5 separate regions of the Homo sapiens genome follow, and regions 1, 2, 3 and 5 are each linked to region 4. The links are contacts of gene promoters, found by promoter capture Hi-C in blood cells and fetal thymus (Javierre and others, 2016). All regions are on one chromosome and are shown on one strand. Each heading gives the region's core, a stretch centred on a gene start or on the middle of the fragment in contact. The rest is flanking DNA. Distances are from core to core; before and after follow the strand shown. Region 1 overlaps COPB2 (coat protein complex I subunit beta 2). Region 2 overlaps LOC124909439. Region 3 overlaps DZIP1L (DAZ interacting zinc finger protein 1 like). Region 4 holds the start of FAIM (Fas apoptotic inhibitory molecule). Region 5 overlaps MRPS22 (mitochondrial ribosomal protein S22).

Evidence for each region. Contacts are between HindIII fragments. The CHiCAGO score rates a contact against its expected background, and 5 or more counts as called.
Region 1: a fragment that was not itself captured here is called in contact with the fragment with the promoter of FAIM in region 4 in 2 of 17 cell types (naive CD8 T cells and total CD8 T cells); the score reaches 7.5 in naive CD8 T cells.
Region 2: a fragment that was not itself captured here is called in contact with the fragment with the promoter of FAIM in region 4 in 6 of 17 cell types (fetal thymus, monocytes, activated CD4 T cells and 3 more); the score reaches 8.7 in fetal thymus.
Region 3: a fragment that was not itself captured here is called in contact with the fragment with the promoter of FAIM in region 4 in 1 of 17 cell types (neutrophils); the score reaches 5.0 in neutrophils.
Region 5: a fragment that was not itself captured here is called in contact with the fragment with the promoter of FAIM in region 4 in 10 of 17 cell types (naive CD8 T cells, activated CD4 T cells, total CD8 T cells and 7 more); the score reaches 14.9 in naive CD8 T cells.

The regions. Positions count from the first base shown.
Region 1 is chr3:139,362,654-139,366,312 of GRCh38, reverse strand. The region is part of intron 15 of COPB2 (coat protein complex I subunit beta 2); the gene reads left to right. Among named protein-coding and RNA genes, the nearest start is that of MRPS22, 20 kb to the right of the region's middle. The HindIII fragment of the contact is 2,935 bases long and covers 169-3,103 here.
Region 2 is chr3:139,317,721-139,321,546 of GRCh38, reverse strand. The region is part of intron 1 of LOC124909439; the gene reads left to right. Among named protein-coding and RNA genes, the nearest start is that of MRPS22, 24 kb to the left of the region's middle. The HindIII fragment of the contact is 2,515 bases long and covers 132-2,646 here.
Region 3 is chr3:138,066,694-138,070,290 of GRCh38, reverse strand. It overlaps DZIP1L (DAZ interacting zinc finger protein 1 like), which reads left to right. Exons shown (of 16, transcript NM_173543.3): 13 at 1,924-2,140; 14 at 2,591-2,760. Among named protein-coding and RNA genes, the nearest start is that of DZIP1L, 47 kb to the left of the region's middle. RefSeq lists an enhancer at 3,523-3,572. The HindIII fragment of the contact is 5,579 bases long and covers 1-3,597 here.
Region 4 is chr3:138,607,310-138,611,144 of GRCh38, reverse strand. It overlaps FAIM (Fas apoptotic inhibitory molecule), which reads right to left and starts at 2,374. Exons shown (of 6, transcript NM_001033031.2): 1 at 2,208-2,374. RefSeq lists an enhancer at 1,637-1,726 and a silencer at 1,827-2,286. The HindIII fragment of the contact is 4,797 bases long and covers 793-3,835 here.
Region 5 is chr3:139,345,696-139,349,282 of GRCh38, reverse strand. MRPS22 (mitochondrial ribosomal protein S22) reads right to left here. Exons shown (of 8, transcript NM_020191.4): 2 at 2,239-2,405; 3 at 959-1,123. Among named protein-coding and RNA genes, the nearest start is that of MRPS22, 3.5 kb to the right of the region's middle. The HindIII fragment of the contact is 1,314 bases long and covers 594-1,907 here.

The sequences.
Region 1 (3,659 bases), core at 387-2,886, 760 kb before region 4:
TCCTGATATTTTCATTTCTACACTGCATTTTTAGCTTTATCCCATCTGCTTTTTAAAAAAAAATGATTAAAATACATATAAAATGTACCATGACATGACTTTTTCTTATGTAATGTTTTTTAAGCAAAGTTACATATGTGCAAAGCATAAAGTAAGTTTTGCAAAGCTTAAGAAAAAAATCAGCCCTCCTTTTTGCTTTCTACTCCCTAGAGGTAATTATTTTATCTAATTCTTTTGGTATTTATTTCCATATCTCTAAATAACTTGAGGTATAGCAGTTTCTTCATTTCTTAGCTTTAGGCATTTCTTGTGACTTCCCCCTCTGTAGAAGATGAGAATTTCGCCTTCTTTCATTCCCCTGCGTCTACCACATACATGCCACTTTCCTATCCTTTATCTCTCAGAATAGTTCTAATTTTGATTGATCACTACTCAAATGTTTACATTATTATGGCTATGTAATCACTGCTCACAGGTGAACATGTAGCATATTATCTAGCTTTCCTTTCCTGCAATTGTTTGTTTTCCCTAGTTTATAATTGTCTTTTTCCCCCCTTTGCTTAATTTTCTATGTACCTGTGGTTAATTCTCCCTGGACTTTGCTGGTTCTCCAGAGTTCCTGAAGATCTCCTTTCAGTTTGCTTAGTCTCCTTCAGACTGCACTGGTTTTCCTGCTCTCATCATGGATTTCCCCTCACCATCATGTTGGGGCTTCCTTTGCTTCTGTCCTGTTGGATCCATTGTTTCTTATACCCCTATCTCCTTTCCTGCTTTGCTCCCTCATTTTAGGGGAACATGCCCTTCAGCAATTTCCTGAGAAAAGGATTGTTAATGAGAGATAAATTGTTTTGTGACTTTGAATATCTGAAAGTGCCATTGTTCTACCCTAAAACATATTCAACCATTTAACTGGTATATAATTGTTGGAGGTAATTTTCTCTCAGAATTTTGAAGGCATTGTTCCATTGCCTTGTAGTTATTGTTGAAGTCTAAAGCCATTTTTATTCCTCATTCTTAGTACATGACCTGGTTTTTCTCTGTGGAAACTTTCTGAATGTCATCTCTGTTGTACTGAAATGTTATAATCATGGTAGGCCTTGGTAGGAATCAGTTTTCATTAATTCTGCCAGTTATTAGATGAGCTTTTTTAATGGGAAACTTATGTCCTACATTTCTGAAGGATTTTCATGAATCGTTCTATGGTGATATCCTTCGTTTTCTGTATTCTGTCTTTCTGGAATTGTTCATGTTGTATGTCCTGCACTGATTTTCCTATTCTCTTTTAAAATCTTATTGTTTATAGATAAAAGTTTCTCGTATCTTTCTACAGATATGAATGATATATTTCTGTTTTTAGATTTTGAAGTTTTCTCTTCCCCCTATATGGTATGCTTCCTTCACGTTCCTTTTATTGCTTCATTTTGATCTGCATCTTTGCTGTTAGTGATTTTCCTCAAGTATCTGATGTCCTTGGGCCCTCATTTAAGAGTGAAGGTACAAGAAACAGATCAGAAGGTCTGAATTTGTGGGTGGGGCATATTGGGTTTGGATTTCACAATATCTGGTGTGGTTGGCCCATTTGATTAGGGAGTCTCAATGTCAGTATCTTTAGCCAATGAATTTTTGATGACTTTCCATTTATGTAATGAATTTAACAAGCACTTAACAATGTGCTAGGCACTGTTCCTGCTGACATGTAGCCTTCATGGAGTTGACATTTTAGTATTTTTAAGTCTTTTCCCTTGGGCTCAGTAGATTTTACTGAAAAGCTCCCCAGTCACCATCATTTTGGGGTCTCAGTAGAAGATACCTTGGAGTCTCAGTATTTAATATTTCATTGAGTCTGTGTATCCATTTTCATAATCTCCTGTCTTCCTTTGATACTCTGTACTTTTTCCTCCAAGTGTGCTTGGAATCTCCTGGTCTGGAGACTCTTTAGTTTGTCCTCTCCAAAGAATAAACCTGTCTTCTTTGTCATGAGGTGGGAGAGGGGAGGTGAGAGAGGGGAGGTGGGAGAGGGGAGCGGATCTAGAGTTTCTGAATGCTTTTAGGGCAGTTTGTTTGTTTTTAGCCCTACCATTCATGAGACACACTGGGTGTAAATCACATTGTTTCTATGCTGTTCTCACTCCTGATTTAGGATCTGTTTTCTCTACTGTTTTAACAAAATGTTTATATTCCTCCACCAGCTTTCCAGCTTCCAAACTTTTGTTACTGTTTCCTCTCCCTTTCTGTGTGTCGTTGGGAGCTTATGCCTTTAAAAAAAAATCCTTTTAGTGTGATTTTATTAGTAGTAGGGAATTAGCAGAAAACAAAAGTATATATTTTAGTCCGCCTCATTTCATGTGTTTTGCCCTTGGCTGTATCTGACTAGTTCCAGAGATCTTCCATCCTCCACTCTTGGGTTTTATGTTATCTATATCAATGCTAGTGGAAAAAAAGTAACTCCGGTTATTTAGAATGCCTTATTTACATCGTATTCATGGATGGATCGGGGCGGGTTGGCAGCCTGTATAAGCTGAGAAGTTAAAACATTTCAAACTTGATGATAAAGCCATCCTGAAGATATAGCCAGACAGAACCCTAAAGCTGTCCAGCTTCTCAATCTTGACTATCCCATAAATGAGCATTCTCCCTCAGTCTGGTGAAGAGGTAAACTATCCCTGAGCTTTTTGTGTAACACATTACATCCCTAGAGCTAAAAATGACCCCATCAGTAGTGTTTGTCTTGAAGGAGAAGCTAATTTAATAATTACAATAGTTGATTTAAAACAGTGGTCCCCAACCTTTTTGGCACCAGGGACCAGTTTCGTGGCAGATAGACAATTTTTCCACAGATGGGAAGGGGGTACATTTCAGGATGAAACTGTTCCACCTCAGATCGTCAGGCATTAAGAGTCTCATAAAGAGCACAGAACCTAGATCCATCACATGTACAGTTCACAATAGGGTTCATGCTCCTATGAGAATCTAATGCCGTTACAGGCGGAGTTTAGGCGGTAATGCTCACTCACCCACCCACCCACTGCTCACCCTCTGCTGTGCGGCCTGATTCCTAACAGGCCACAGACTGGTTGTTTGGGAGACCCCTGGTTTAAAAGCTTGTTCTTAATGCCTTAATGGAGCATGGGAAGGAAATTTTAGACTTCCTGTCTTTTGGATACTTGCTGAGGAACTGGACTTGAGACCAACAATAAAGGAATAGGTAATGACACCTAATTGGTGACTGGACCTGAATACACAATGTTTGCTATGACCTACAGATGACAGAAAGTTGGAAGGTTTTATATTTGACTCCCGTTTCTTTGGCCATTTACTGCTAATAGTCTCATCTGCAAAATGAGGGGTTGGACTAGATGATCTCTACTTCCCAGCCTAGTTGAGTAGATTACCAACAGCTAAGTTTACACTGCTGTGCCTAGTTTTCTTCTTTTGAAATGATTCTTGTTTAGTCAACTTTGCAAAATTCCTTTCTTTTTGACATATCTGTTTATATTTACATTTCCAGTTTTACTGGTTACTTGAGTTTAACATTAGCCAGCTTCCATTATCCTAATAAACAGTAAGAATTCTGTCACTGAATATTTTATCTGCCAGGTTTGTTCTTACCACTTCCTTTAATGACTCCTTAATTATTCCATCTTCTTATTAAATAGTGG
Region 2 (3,826 bases), core at 140-2,639, 710 kb before region 4:
ATACAGGTTGTTTATTGATTTCACCAATGAGTTAGTATTCCATTGTGCCAATATGTCATGATTTATTTATTCCTTCACCTATTGATGGACGTGTGGGCTATTTTTAGGTTTTTGCTATTATGAATAAAGCTTCTATGACTATTTGCAAAGGAGACTTTATACAGACAAATGTTTTCATTTCTCTCAGGTAAATATCCAGGAAGGAGATTGCTGGGTCATATGATAAGCCTCTGTTTAACTAGATAAGAAACTGCCAATCAATTTTCTAAAATGGTCTTATTTTTTGCAACCCACCAGCAAAGTATGAGGGTACTAATTGCTCCACATCCTCATCAGCACAGAATCTTCTGTCTTTTTAATGTTAGCCATTCTAGTGGGAGAGGAGGTGGTGATATCTCATTGTAGTTTACTTTGAATTTCTCTATGACTAATGACATTCGGCATCTTTTCATGTGCCTGCTGCCCATTCTGATATCTTCTTTTGTGAAGTGTTTGTTCAAATCTTCTGCTTTTTTTAAGTTGTCTGTATACTTAACATTGAGTTAATTCCCTCCAGTTTATGGCCTGCCCTTTTGTTTCTTAACAGTGAAATTTGAAAACCAGACTTTTAAAAAATCTCTCATTAGGGTACTTCTTAAATGTGACTATTAGGCCATGTAAGAAGGGCCAGTTCTCCTCACCCTGCCTCACTCCAGGGTTGCCCAGGTTCTCCTTTATCGCACGAGTTCTCAAAGGAGAGAAGCTGGCTGGAAAAACCGCCTCTGCGTCAGCTGAGAGGAGCCCACAGAGGCACTCTGCTTCTTCCCTTGGCCTAAAGCAAACAGGAAGGCACAGCTCTGGGGGCTCACGATAGGGACCCTGTTGAAGCTGCTGAGTCTTCAGCCACTCGAACCAGGTCCTACCTCGGTGCCAGGCCTTGGGCCATGATGCCCTTCACAGGCATCTTCTGGCTGACTCCTCACTGCCACCTGTGAGGTGGAGTCACTGTTCCCCTTTGATGGATGAGGAATCGGAGGCACAGACTAGTATGTCTGTTGGGAGACAGAAAATGTCTTTTTGACAAAGCGAATTTCATATAAGGCACTGTTAACCAGGGCTTGCAGAACAGAAAGGCAAAGGGGAATGCTGAGACATCAGAGGTAGTAACAGCAGGAATATATGAAGCCCTCTTACAAGTCAATAATAAGGAAGTAATCTAATTGTTTAAAATAGGCAAATGATTTGAGCAGACACTTCAAAGAAAATACAGGGATGGCAAATAAGCACATGAAAAGATCCTCAGGGTCAGTAACAGCCCCTAGGGCTGAGGGAACAAGGGTGAGAGTGTGGGCTTATAAAGATGTGGACACTTGGGAGGGGGCTGCAAGGCTGAGGCCCAGATTTCTGAGGGGGTGTCTCTCAGAGGACCCCATGGGACAGGTCTGCGAATGGGGAGGAAACTGACAGCTGGAACCAGCGGCTGCTGCTGGGGTGCAGGGCCATTGCATTGCTGGGGTGTTGCCAACAGAACAGGAAACAGACACAAAGGAGCTGACCCCTTCTCCATCCACCAGTGTTGCAGGCTCCCTCTAGTGCCCCCTCTTGGCAGAGCCTAACAAGGAGTTCTGGCAAGGCATACTGGTGATTTGTGGGATCCCAGAACATCACAGAGGGACGCTGGTTTGAAGCTGAGAGACAATGGCTTAATAACGAGCACCACAAATAAAGTCATTTGCCCAGCGAGTATAGCTAGTAAGTGGCAGAGTTTTTAACCCAGGAGCATATGACTCTGAGGCCAGTGCCCAGGTGGGGGTTAGAAGGAAACACTGGACAGGTGCCAGCCCCAGAGGCCGGGCTGACAAGTTTGGTGTGTTGGGCACTGGAGCAGGGGCAGAGGGCTGGGCAGGCAGCATCATAGTGAATACCAGGGACCCACCACGGGTCCTAAGCATGGAGCCAGGGCTGCTGAGGAAGCCGAGCTGGAGCAGTTGTGACACTGGGGTATGTGGGGGACACCGTACATGCTGCTGAGCTGGATCCCCATCTCAGCCCAGATAGGCAGGAAGACAACCAGAGTAAACTGAGGTCCTGGCTCTGGGCTCTGCACCCATGGGTCCTGCGATGCCCCTGCCTGCCTGAGTCAGGAGCTCCAGCCAGGGACAAGAAGAGCAGAGCCCAAGGAGCTGGACATTCACACCTCTCTCCTCATCTCAGACACAGCACCCTCTTTTTTGGCCAAAACCTTCCCAGGACAAAGCCATTGAGGTCCCAGATGGAACATTCCAAGATTTATTTGCAGTTTTCTTCTGAAACTAGCTTCTCTACTGTGGTGACCATGAGCCAGCCACCATTCCACCTCTGTGAGTCCCTCTTTGAGTCGCTGATTCCTAGAGAATGAGACCACACCCCAGTCTCAAAAGGTGTTGGGATGAGCTCTTGCATTGAAGTGTGAGTTGCTTTTCCCTCGCCCCTGCCAAATCCTCCAGCCTTCCCCAGGCAGGTCCATCCTGGGTGGTCAGCAGCAGGAGACTCCCACCTGTGTGCCTTGTTCCTCCCCTTTCAGTCGTCCTCTGGATATGCAGCTGCTGAACGGCGATCCCGGGCCCACATCCACATGTGGAATTCCTCTGAGCCAGCCTTCCACTGGGGAGACCTGTACCCCAAGCTTTCAGGTCCCCTAATGACTATCTCTCCTCTCTATGATGGGGCTGCACCTGGTCTGATCTCTAAGCTGTGGTACACCCAGGGATTAGGGGCACTGGCTTTGTATCCAAACAGCTGTAGGTTAAAACCCTAACTTTGCTGTGGGCTAGTTGTGGGACATTGGGCAAAGTACTCAATCTTTCTGTGTTTTATTTTATTGTTTGTCAAACCTATAGGCTAACATTAGTATGCCCACCCTCAGTGATTTATTAGGAGGCTTGGATGAGTCCAGGCATGACAGCCCTGGCACAGTGCCAGGTGTCTGGCCACTACTCAAGCAACGGAGCTGTTGCAATTAGAGTCGGCTTCAGATCTGGGGCTTCTAGGGTCTCCTTTGGTCCTCCACTCACCTCTAGGGCATAAACATCGTCTGTGCTTTTTAATTTCCCACACTAGCCCAGCAGGGAATTGCATCCCCTTATCTATGTCCCCTCCCCATCCAGCCCTTCCAGCTACAACATCAGCCTCTCATTCCCTGGCAGGGCTCAAGCTGTTATGATCTGGCTTTGGACAAGAGGAGCCGTTGATCCCCTCATGGACATCTTGGGCACTGGGTTCATCCAGGTGCCTCACTGCTCAGCAGCTCGTGGACAGGCCCTCTGGCCTGTGGCTTGTGGGCCTGTTGGACTGTAGTCCCAGCTGGCTCTCTTCACGTGCTCCAGCATCCGTGGGCAGCGCGATGCCTGCCTTCTCCGCTTTGATCAGGGCAGGGGGCTGCTCAACAGTTAGTTTGGGACCATCTCTGTGATGCATTTTGACAGACTTGGCCAAGCATATGCTTTAAATCCTAATGAGAAAGGGTCTTTTTAAGTAAAGGGAGCCCACAGCAGCCTTCAAAGCGCTCTCTGGACAAACTAGGGAGTATGATGAACCCTGGCTCTGTATCATCCTGCAGCCTAGTGTGCAAATGCAGTGCAAGAGAGGACCTCTAGCTTGTCCTTCAGTCCAAATGGGTGACAGCAGAGTTGAGTCATGGCCTGACTCAGCCACACCTCCACCAGGTTCAACCTCCTGAGACCTTTTCCCAGGTTTCCTTGTGCTCTGACTCTGATAGCTCCTCTGAACTGGTCCACCTTGGCTCTTTATTGTAAACTGCCTTAAGCAGACCTTGCATTCTTTCTAATGGCTTCAGAAGGAGTTAGAT
Region 3 (3,597 bases), core at 109-2,608, 540 kb after region 4:
TTCATTCATTTGCCCACTCATTCATTTAGTACAGTACTTGCTGAGGTTGACTCTGTGCCAGGGCCTTCCACCTCACCTGGGAAATCAGCCAGGACCAGGTGATGTGATGGAGCCAAGCATGGGGGTGGTGGGAGCTCAGAGGAGGGAGGGGACAGGGACTTGGGGAGGATGAATGGAAAAACCCTCGGAATGCTGGCTTCCAAGAGAAAGCAAAGGTATCTTGCTCCTTCTAGGTGCTACGCCCCACCCACTCCCACACACCTTTGTTCCTGTAGTAAAAAAGCCAGGAGGGAGAGCCCCCTTCGCAGCCTTCCCTTTCCCTGGCCCTGGGGTTCTGCCTTCTCTGGAGATGTTACTGAGTTGTGAGATGAGCGCTGTGTTTTTGTGGCATTTTGTAGACCTTTCCTTCCAGCTCTGCACCTTTATTCTTTTCCTGGGTCCCACAAGTGCTGTCTTAATGCTCACCTCCCATTTCTGCTTGGACCCTGCCTCTTCTGTGGCCTGGGCAAGGCTGTGGGAAGTAGCGGTGAGGGCCCAAGATTAGGGCAGACAGACAACCTGGGTTTGTATTCACCACTTTCTTCCGTGGAGCTGAGGGCAAGCCTCTGTAGGGAAAATGATAGCCTCTGAAGATGCTCGGGGGCCAAGTGGTTGTATGTAAAGTGCTTTTCTTAGTATCTGGTACACAGTCATGGGAAGCTATTGTTATTTTCCCCCAGCAGGCTTGTCTTTGTCTTCCCCTTCTCTTCAGTTCACTCTTTCCTGGAAGCTCCACTTCTGAGTAGACACATTCACTGAGAGCAGTGCATAGCTGGCCCTTGAACAATGCAGGGGTCAGGGGCGCAAACCCCCCATGCAGTTGAAAATTTGCGTGTAACTTTTGACTGCCCCAAAACTTAACTACTCATAGCCTACTGTTGACCAGAAGTCTTACCGACAATATGGACTATTAACACACATTTTGTATGTTATATGAATTATAAGCTGTATTATTACAATAAAGTAAGCTAGAGAAAAGAACATGTTATTAAGAAAATCACAAGGAAGAGCAAATATGTTTACTATTCATTAAGGGGAAGTGGATCATCATAAAGGACTTCATCCTTGTTATCTTTGTGTTGAGTAGGCTGAAGAGGAGGAGGAAGAGGAGGGGTTGCTCTTGCTGTCTCACGGGTGGCAGAGTCGGAAGAAAATCCACGTATAAGTGGACCCATGGCTGTTCAACCCCACGTTGTTTCGGGGTCAACTGTATTTCAAACATTTTCTGATCTTGAATTACTGTAAGAAACTCATTTTACATTGTGACCCAATCCACACATGTCTGACTCCCTGTGATGCACTCTCTCTCTTCTCTTCCCATAAAAACTTGCTGATCCGGGACCGCTCTTGTGGCTATAGGTCTTGATGCAATTTGGAAAACAGAGGGGCTGTGTCCAATTGCCTGCCTTGGTACTGCCTTGCCCCAGACTGCATTTGGGAGGAGGTTTGAGTGGATCTTGATGGTTCATGCAGTCCTGCGGCGACCTCTGGTGGCAGTGGGGTCTTCCTGCAGGACTGCCTGCAGTGCAGCGGCTGTAGCGTGGGTTGGGGAGAGGGTAGCAGCCTTGGTGAAGTCCATCTAGGACTACTGAGCCCCTCTTCAGGCCCGCGGACTCCTGCTGGTCTTCAGTAATGACAACACGACCCTGGAGCACCCAGCTGCTCTCCTGGTCTCTGATGAAACTGTGGAACTGTGGTCCTAGCCTCGAATCTGGCCAGCAGAACACCTGATTTGGCAACAGTCATGAAATCTGCTGTGGTTATTACAGCACGGAGAGGGAGTAATTGTTCATTTCCAGGGTGTTGGAGCCACTTTCTCCCTCCTCTTAGGCTTGAGATCCAGCATGGGTGTACTCCAAAAATCATTCCTTTCTGTGTTTCCAGTCAAAAGCCAGCAGAGCACACTGGTCACCAGAGAGGCCCAGCCAAAGACCAGGACCCTGCAGGTGGCCTTGCCATCCACACCGGCAGAGCCACCCCCACCAACTCGTCAGAGCCATGGCAGCCATGGCTCCAGCCTGACCCAGGTGTCCGCCCCCGCTCCACGCCCCGGACTGCATGGACCCTCCAGCACCCCTCCTTCCTCGGGGCCCGGGATGAGGTGAGCCCCAGACTCTGCCCTCTCACCCCACCTGCAGTGGTGGCTCCTGGATTCAGGCAGTCCTGTTCTGGGCTCCCTCCAGGCTTCTGCAGATAGGAGGGGGGCAGACACATGTGAATAGAAGGTGCCTCAGGTGGGGTCCAGTCTGAGCTCTGGACTTGAGAACCTGTGCTCCCAGCCAAGACAAACCCACCCTCCCCTTACCCATGTCCTCCCCCAAACCCGTTCCCCCTCCAGAGGGGCTGGATCCTCAGATGGGCAGGGCTCTACTAAGGGAGATACTGGTGTGGCTGCTGCACTCCAGGGGTCTCCTGGCTGTCTTCTGGGCCTGAGGGAGGGAGCAGGGCTGGCCCTGAGCAAACCAAACCAGCTTGAAGCGTGGTGAAGTTTGGCTTTTGAAGTTTTCTTTCTGGCCCATGCATCCCTCATTTCTTCTCCTCCTCGTGGCAGCACGCCCCCGTTCAGTTCTGAAGAGGACTCAGAGGGAGACCGTGTGCAGCGTGTGTCTCTACAGCCCCCAAAAGTTCCTTCCAGGATGGTGCCCCGGCCCAAGGATGACTGGGACTGGTCTGACACAGAGACCTCGGAGGAGAATGCCCAGCCCCCTGGCCAGGGCTCAGGTGAGCTGGCACCTTTGGGTGAGTGGGCTGGGACCACCGGTGTAGCCCTTCTCCAGCCCAGATTTCTCAAGGCTCCAGAAACACCCTTTAGCTTCCTTTAGGCTTTCTTATTTGACATCTCTTTCTCTATTTGGCTTGGAAAGGATGGTCCTCCTTCGCCTCAGATATTTTTTTGTGGGATAGCAGAGATATCAGGAGAAAGCTAGAGTTTGAGCAAGGTTTAGTTTTACCCCTTGTTTTGTCATTAAATTGTTAACTGTGGGAGGTTGAAGGGAGCCATTCACCCCTTTTCTCCTCCATGTTCTTTCCAGTAGAGAGTAAACACTGTGGCCAGCTACGGGAGATCAAAGCCTCGCTCTAGTAGTGGTGACAGGGCCCAGGAATGCCTGAGGCATAGGCTTCCTGTTAGGGCTGGATTAGAGGAACAACCCGCACTTGAGGCCAAAGTGGGGGCCCCTCCAGCCTCCCCAAATCCAGATCCCAATCTTACTTGTGTGCAGGGCTGGGTTTGCAAAGAAGACCCTGAGTGTGCAGGCCCTTAAACAGGCAGCTGTAGGGTACACTCCAGCCAGGCTCCAACCCCAGCCACAGGGGCGGGGAGGGTCCGAGAGAAAGAGCTGGCACTGTCTTCTGGATCAGCGGCCCTCCTTCAGGTGCGCCGTGGCCCAGGGTGTGTTGTAGGCCCACCCCTCTGCTTGGCTTCTTCTGTGAGAGAGGGTAGTATGTGGGGAAGAAACTGGGAGGGTGTTTCTCCTATCCTTGTCCATCTCGGTGAGTAGAGCAGAAGTTCCTTCTTCTGTGGAAGCTCGAGGCGTGTGAGAGAAGGCTCTCCCCTCT
Region 4 (3,835 bases), core at 1,125-3,624:
TCTAAGTTACAAATTCAATTTAATAAACACATGTCATATTCTAAGTTCATCCAGCATACCAATAGTTATTGGGTACTTATGTACCAGGCTCTGGGCAGGGCACTAACCTCAGAGTGGCAGAGTCCGGAGATACCAAGAGATGATTATAGCACAACAGTGGGAGTGTCCTTATAAAGGGAAGCAGCATAGGATAGAATGGGCCATAGAGGAAGGGTCGTAGCTCTGCCGAAGAAGGCTTTGGTTTAAAACTTTGGAGAAAGTGGCCAGGCGCGATGGCTCACACCCCGTAATCCCAGCACTTTGGGAGGTCAAGGCGGTCGGATCACTTGAGGTCAATAGTTCAAGACCAGCCTGGACAAAACGGTGAAATCCTGTCTTTGCAAAAATAGAAAAATTTGCCGGGCATGGTAGCGCACGTCTGTAAATCCCAGCTACTCCGGAGGCTGAGGCACAAGAATCGCTTGAACCCGGGAGGTGGAGGTTGCAGTGAGCCGAGATCATGCCACTGCACTCCAGCCTGGGTGACAGAGGGAGATTCTGTCTGAAAAATAAAAAAATGAAACTTGGGAGCAAGAAATTAATCCACTGTTGTTTTTAAACTCTTATGCATGTACTTAATTTTCAAGATTCTATGACCAAACTGGAAAATGATAAATACAAAAAACCCTCTATTTTTGCAAATATTTTATTAAAATGTAAATTTAAAAAGATGAAAAACCATATTCCACTTACTTTCACTGATGGAGATGATACCAAGCACTTGAAACTTTTTACATGTCTTTAAAGAAAGCTTTTTGCGTATCTCATACGTACCCATCAATCTTTTAAAATCCCTTCCCTAGCAACCCAACACCTAAGTTTCAGAGCATGACTTAAACACCAACACGTTGCCACTGTTCATCTAATCCACCTGAATTTTGCCTTAACTTAGGTTTATTCTTACTGGGGACTGAAATGGTTCGTTCAAGATAAACCGAAGTCAGTTTAAAAATTACTAGATGATAGTAGTTACTAAGATGCTCATGGTTCCCTTTTCAGCAAAGGCCCCCAGGTAGGGCCAGCCAATAATGCAAGTCACACTCAAGTGTTGACATCTTCATCTCCGGGCCGGCCCCTTATGAAGTGAGGGGGGTCTCCAGTAAAATCACTCAGGAAGCTCCTCGAGCCAAGTATTCCCAAATGCTACTTACTGGAGGTACAAAAAGGAGAATAACTTTTCTGAGGGCCATTTCACAATCTATACCAGAAGCCTTGTGGTATAGACCGTGGATTCTATCTTGTTTTAGAACGAATCTTGTGCGATTCTTTCTACAGAAATGATCACGCTCAAAAACCCAGATACAACGATGCTCAATGAATTACTTTTTGCAATAACTAAAAACTGAAAACCACTTGTACGCTCACCATCAGGGAGAAACTACATTTAGTAAATCACAGTCCAAAGCCATGCCAAGAGTCAGGGATGGATGAGGTAGTCAACCTGACACACAGGAATGTACAGTCGAGAGAGAGAGAGAGAGAGAGAGAGAGTCGAGAGAGAGAGAGAGAGAGTCGAGAGAGAGAGAGTCGAGAGAGAGAGAGAGAGAGAGAGAGAGAGAGAGAGAGAGAGAGTTTCAGCACTTTATGATGCAGGTTCTGCAAAAACAAGCCCCGCTCATGTTACAAGGAAAAACCATCTGGAAGAATATACACCCTCATGTTAACGCAGCTTGTCTCTGGGGAGCAGCGGCACGGCTGCTTTGCTTGCTTCCTTGCTTTCTGTTCCACGTTTTCGACAGTGAGAAGTATTATCTTTAGAGGTCGCGAACAGGCCGGAGGAGGGTGCGGCAGGTCGCGGGGCAGGGCCTCGCTAGGCAGGGACGCCCCCGCACCGCCCCGGGCTGGCCCCGCGCCCCGCGCCCCGCCGCACCTCCACCTTTGCCGGCGGTGAGCGGGAGCCGCGTCCCGCCCCGAGGTCTGGGATCACCGGCGGGCCGGCTGGAAGCGTCCGGAACTCACCCAGCGTCTCACCCGCGCGGGTCTCACCGACCGCGCAAACACCGCCCGCCGCCGCCGCCCAGAGATGGCCGCCGCCGGCGCAGCAGGGCCGAGAGCGTGGGGACGCCGGGGGGCTGAGTGCAGGGGTTTCCAGGGTGCGGAGCGGGCGGGCCCGAGGCGTCCGGGCGGGCGCAGGCGCGACACCGACCCCACCCGGTCTGCTGCCTCACCTGTGCTCTGTGGGCCGCGGGAGGCTCTGGGGTAGGTTTCACCAAACAACCGGTTGGTTCCGACTCGGCTGCGTAGGCCGCGTGGCCTTGCTCCCCTGGCCGAGAAACAGGCGCAGCCGGCGCGGAGGTTGAAAGCTCTGCAGGCGCGAGTACCAAACGCGCCGACTGTTTGTCGCGCCTCTCAGGTCCCCTGGGGCGACCAGCGCAGGAGGCCACCCCTCCCGCCGCCACGGACCCAACCCTGGTCCTCTGCCTTAGCCGAAGGCCGCACCCTCCGCGCATAGGCCTTCCTCAGCCCCAACCCAGGACATCACCATGTCCCGCAGTGCGTCCAGTCTTCCTGCCAGCAAGTGTGGGTAGGAGCCGGCCGCTGGCCCCGCTCTGGGCTAGACGGTGGGGACATACTGGCGGGCAAAAACAGCCCTGTGCCTGCTCTGCAGCTATGGGGAAGGAATATCTGTTCATGGCAGCAATAGCATTCGCTCCTTAAAACCTCTTTATGAGTCTCATTCCTTTTTTAAAGACCCAAACTACTTAAGGTGGGCATGAAGCCCCCATGTGTGATCTAGCCTCTGCCTGCTTGGCTTCATTTAGGTCCTTAAAGGATGCAGGTTTCTTCTCGCCCAGGGCCTCTGCAAATGCTCTTCTCTCTGCCTGGACACTCCTCACCTCTTCCCTATTGTGAGAGTTCTTCATATATCATTTCTTAGATTACACTATCCTGGCCCATAAGACTTGCAGCATTGCTGGGTGTGGTGGCTCATACCTGTAATCACGGCATTTTGGGAGGCAGAGTGGCGGATCTCTTGAGTCCAGGAGTTCAAGACCAGCCTGGGCAACATGGTAAAAAAAAAAAAAAAGAGAGAGAGAGAATGAGAAAGAAGAAAAGAAAATAATTAGCGGCTCAGGCCTGTAATCCTAGCTACTTGGGACGCTGAGGTGGGAGAATTGCTTGGGCCCTGAAGGGAGGTAGAGGCTGCAGAGAGCTGTGATTGCACCACTACACTCCAGCCTGGGCAACAGAGCGAGACCCTGTTTCATTAAAAAAAACACACACAAAAAGAAACAGCCGGGCTCAGTGGCTCACGCCTGTAATCCCAGCACTTTGGGATGCTGAGGCAGGCATGGCAAAACCCCGTCACTACTGAAAATATAAAACTTAGAGGGGCGTGGTGGTGCATGCCTGTAGTCCCAACTACTTGGGAGGCTGAGGCAGGAGAATCGCTTCAACCTGGGAGGTGGAGGTTGGAGTGAGCTGAGATTGAGCCACTGCACTCCAGCCTGGGCGAAGAGCAAGACTCTGTCTCAAAAAAAAAAAAAAAAAAAAACAGCCGGGCACAGTGGCTTACACCTGTAATCCCAGCACTCTGGGAGGCCAGGTGCGGATTGCCTGAGGTCAGAAGTTTGAGACCAGCCTGGCCAACGTGGTGAAACCCTAGCTCTACTAAAAATACAAAAATTAGCCGGGCGTGGTGGCATGCGTCTGTAATCCCAGCTACTCAGGAGGCTGAGGCAGGAGAATCACTTGACCTTGGGAGGTGGCAGTTGCAGCGAACTGAGATCGCCTCACTGTACTGCAGCCTGAGCCACAGAGTGATACTTCGTCTCAAAAACAAAAACAAAAAAAA
Region 5 (3,587 bases), core at 1-2,500, 740 kb before region 4:
TTCCTCAGAAGGATTTTGGTAATTTGAGAAACCTGAATTCCAAGTTCCTTTCTCCTTTTCAAGTTACAAAATGCTTCCCAACCAACATGCACAGCACTGCAAACATATATTAAAGCATCACAAAACAAAAACTGTAATTAAAATTGAAACTCTGTGACTCATGTTCATTATGTCAAATATACAGATGGCTGGTGTTGAACATAGCTCAAATCGTTTTCTAACCATAATCATGTATAATAAAAGATTAATATGGAGTGAACCTTCTCCTAAACTCAGCATTCTATAGTGTTCTAACGTATTCTGTGGGCTGAATTGTAAACTATTCTCTTTTTATTCTTTACTTGCAAAGGCTCAAATACAAAGCTTACATATTTCTAAAATGCCAGAGTGTTCTTTTAAATTTGCAATCAAGTAAAGAGGAGCCAGAGAATAACAATCACAACAGAAGAAGTGGTGATGCCTGAAAATTATCTGAGAAACATCTGTCATTCTTACTGAAAATTCTGGAAAGCGAAAATCCTTTATGATGCCTGAGTTTCTTGGCATCATCAAGGAATTTATAAGACAGAAACATTCTATCTTCTCAAAAAGCTTCAGCTAAAGAAATCCATCTAACTTAGGCGAAAAGAGTCTCCTGCTTCCATTGCCTTGTAGATTTTTGTCCATTTGTGGTTTGGGATGGGTTTCTGTCTGTATCTGTGTACTCCTTGTTCTGCCTCAGCACATCTGGAATCTGGAAAATACTGTGCCTATTATCTGCTGAGAAATGGTAACACCATGATGTGGGGCTGGTCTGCATTTCTCATCCCTCATATAGTATATCTTCCAGAAGGGTCTCACCCAGTCAGAGGAAATCTGGTTTGGACGCATCAGAGACAGCCAGGTCACATCATCTCTCAAGCCCTTCTCCACATAGTATTTCAAAGAAAGATCATTTTGCGATTAGACATATACTCACCCGGTGTGGTATGCTATATGATATATCAGTAAACACATATTTGGTTGTTTCTGTTCCTTCCAAAATCTTATCTTCAGCTAACACATCATTTATTGGTACTCGCTCTTCCAGAACTGGTGGCATTTTTAATCGTACTTTAGCTGCCTCAACTGCCTGTCTTGTAGCCTAATGAAAGAAAATATTTATTAAGGAAAGCCACAAGGTTACATAATATAAGGATCATCTGACAAAAGCACATACTAATAAAAAATGCAAAAACCTGCATAGAAAAGAAGGTGTAGCCACAAATCAGTGAGTAAAAAGCCAAACCTGGACTTGTGAGCCCTGGCCTTTGCCTCTGCGATGTGGCTGAGACCACCAGCTATAGACTCAACCGTTATCAAAACCACAAAGGCATGCTCTGAGACAAAGCCAGGCTACAAAAGCTGCTTGAAACAGAATAAAAGAATGCAGTTTTGGGGTGCTTACTATGTGCCAGATAGTGTTCAAACAGTCTAAATGTATTTGGCTGATTTAATGGCCTCAATTACCTTATGAGTTAGGTGCAATTGTTATCATCTCCATTTTACAGAAGAAAAAACAGAGGCATACAGATGTTAAGTAAATTGCTAGAAAATTGCAACACTGGTATTTGAACCTAGACAACCCAACTTCAAAGCCCATTCTCTTAACCATTGACTACATTGCTTCATGCCATACTGTTAAAAGCAGTTACCTCTAGGAGGTGAAAAGATGGACTTTTACTCTTCATGTAATCTACTACTGGAGAGAGATATATATATTTTGCTGACTATAAATTACTTTTGAATCAGAAAGACGAGTATTAATGCTTTACGTATTCATACATCAAAGTGTTTTCCACGCAGCACTCAGTACCCATGGTACTGAGGACACTGGTGCCTGGAAAACATGCTGTTTCCATGCAGGATCTCACAATCTCCCCAAAGCTTCAGCCCCAAGGCAGATCACAGTAGATGTTTCTCCAGGAAGGAAGCTGGAGCAGGCAGAAAAAAGGAGGGGTGCTCAGGCTGCCTTGAGAGGAGAGAGGATACTCTCTGAACACCCAGACCTGATCCATATGCCCTAGTCTGCTCAATTCCAGCCATGCTCCCTGCCCCTCTCTGGCAGCCTACTCACATTTCTTTTCTCAGTTCTATGCCTGGTATTACCTTTCACTAGTGCCTATGGAAGAATAGCTATAAGCATCTGGAGGGGCCTCTAGAAATGTTGTTTAAACCCTTAAAGAAAGGTATTCTAACAATATTCCTGCATTCACGTACCTCTTCCAACTGTGCCTGAGTCATTAGCTTATAGGTTGGTGGCTTCAGTTCTTGTATAGCTGGCTTAAAAGTCTTCTGCAAGTTCAAGCCTGTCATTTTCGTGAGTATGCTTTGAACTTCCTCATCCATAAATGTAGGTTTCTTGGTCTCTGGGCTACCAGATTCTGCTAAAATGGACTTTAGTAAATAAGAAGCTGACAAAAATGACAAGCTAACAAGACCTCTAAATAGAAAAGTCAGTTAACAATAAAAAGCATTAGCACAATGTCTACCTTGGCACTGCAAAATGCTAATACCTATGAGATGCATTCATTTATTTCTTCATTTAAGATTTACTGAGCACTCATTATGATGAGGAGATAGACTCGGTCTCTGCCAAAAGGACAGACTACTAGAGGAAGTAACAGTAATAAAGTAATTAATGTAATAACTGTAATGGTTGCTGCCACTTACAGAGCTGTCTCCTATATGGCAGGTATAACACACATTTTCAGGAATGCTTATAACCACTCACAAAATAGGTACTGATAAACCCAATTTTATAAATGAGGATGCTGAAGCCTATCCAAAGACAACTAGCTATTAAGTGATAGAGTCAAAATTTAAACCAAGGTTTGTCTGGTTCTGGATCCTAGATGGTTTCCAATTTATCATAGCGCTCCTCGGTATAAGTGGGAGGTGTGGGGAGACATAATGTGAGAGGTATGGTATACAGGAGAGGTACGGGGCTTGGGTGATTGCAGAGGAAGAAACTAAGCATAGCCTGGACTAGGGATGGGCATGACAGGGTCAAAGAAAGCGTCCCAAGAGCCTCATCACGGCAGAGAAAAAAGGGAGGGAAAGTCTAGGCTAAGAGATTGCAGCTAGGAAAGAGGCTTGGTTCACTGGACATGATACTGAAGAGGCCGTGTGTTATCATGGAAGAGCCTTTGACATAAGCAGAGAATCAAATCTTAGCTCAGCCTCATGCAGTTTGCTTATTGCTTTGCCTAACTTCTACTTCCATTTCCATTAGCAAAAAAGAAAGAAAAAGCCATTTGTTCCTAGTCACCTCTTCTTCTCCTATAAATGTTGGTATCCCTACAGATTCTGAACGATGTCCTTTTCTCCCTTCTCAGATTCTTACTCGATGATTTCTCCTATCCTGCCACGACTTCAATTACCTTTATATGCCAGAAACTCTAAAATCTGAATCTCCTGCCAAGATCACCTTCCATCCAATTACTCAACCTCTCTCATGTACTTGAATACTGCCAAGTCAGAACCCATCAACTTTCCCTTGTCTCAAACCTGCATTTTCTGTTCCCTATCTCAGCATCATCCAGTAGGCCATACAGGCCAGAAATCTT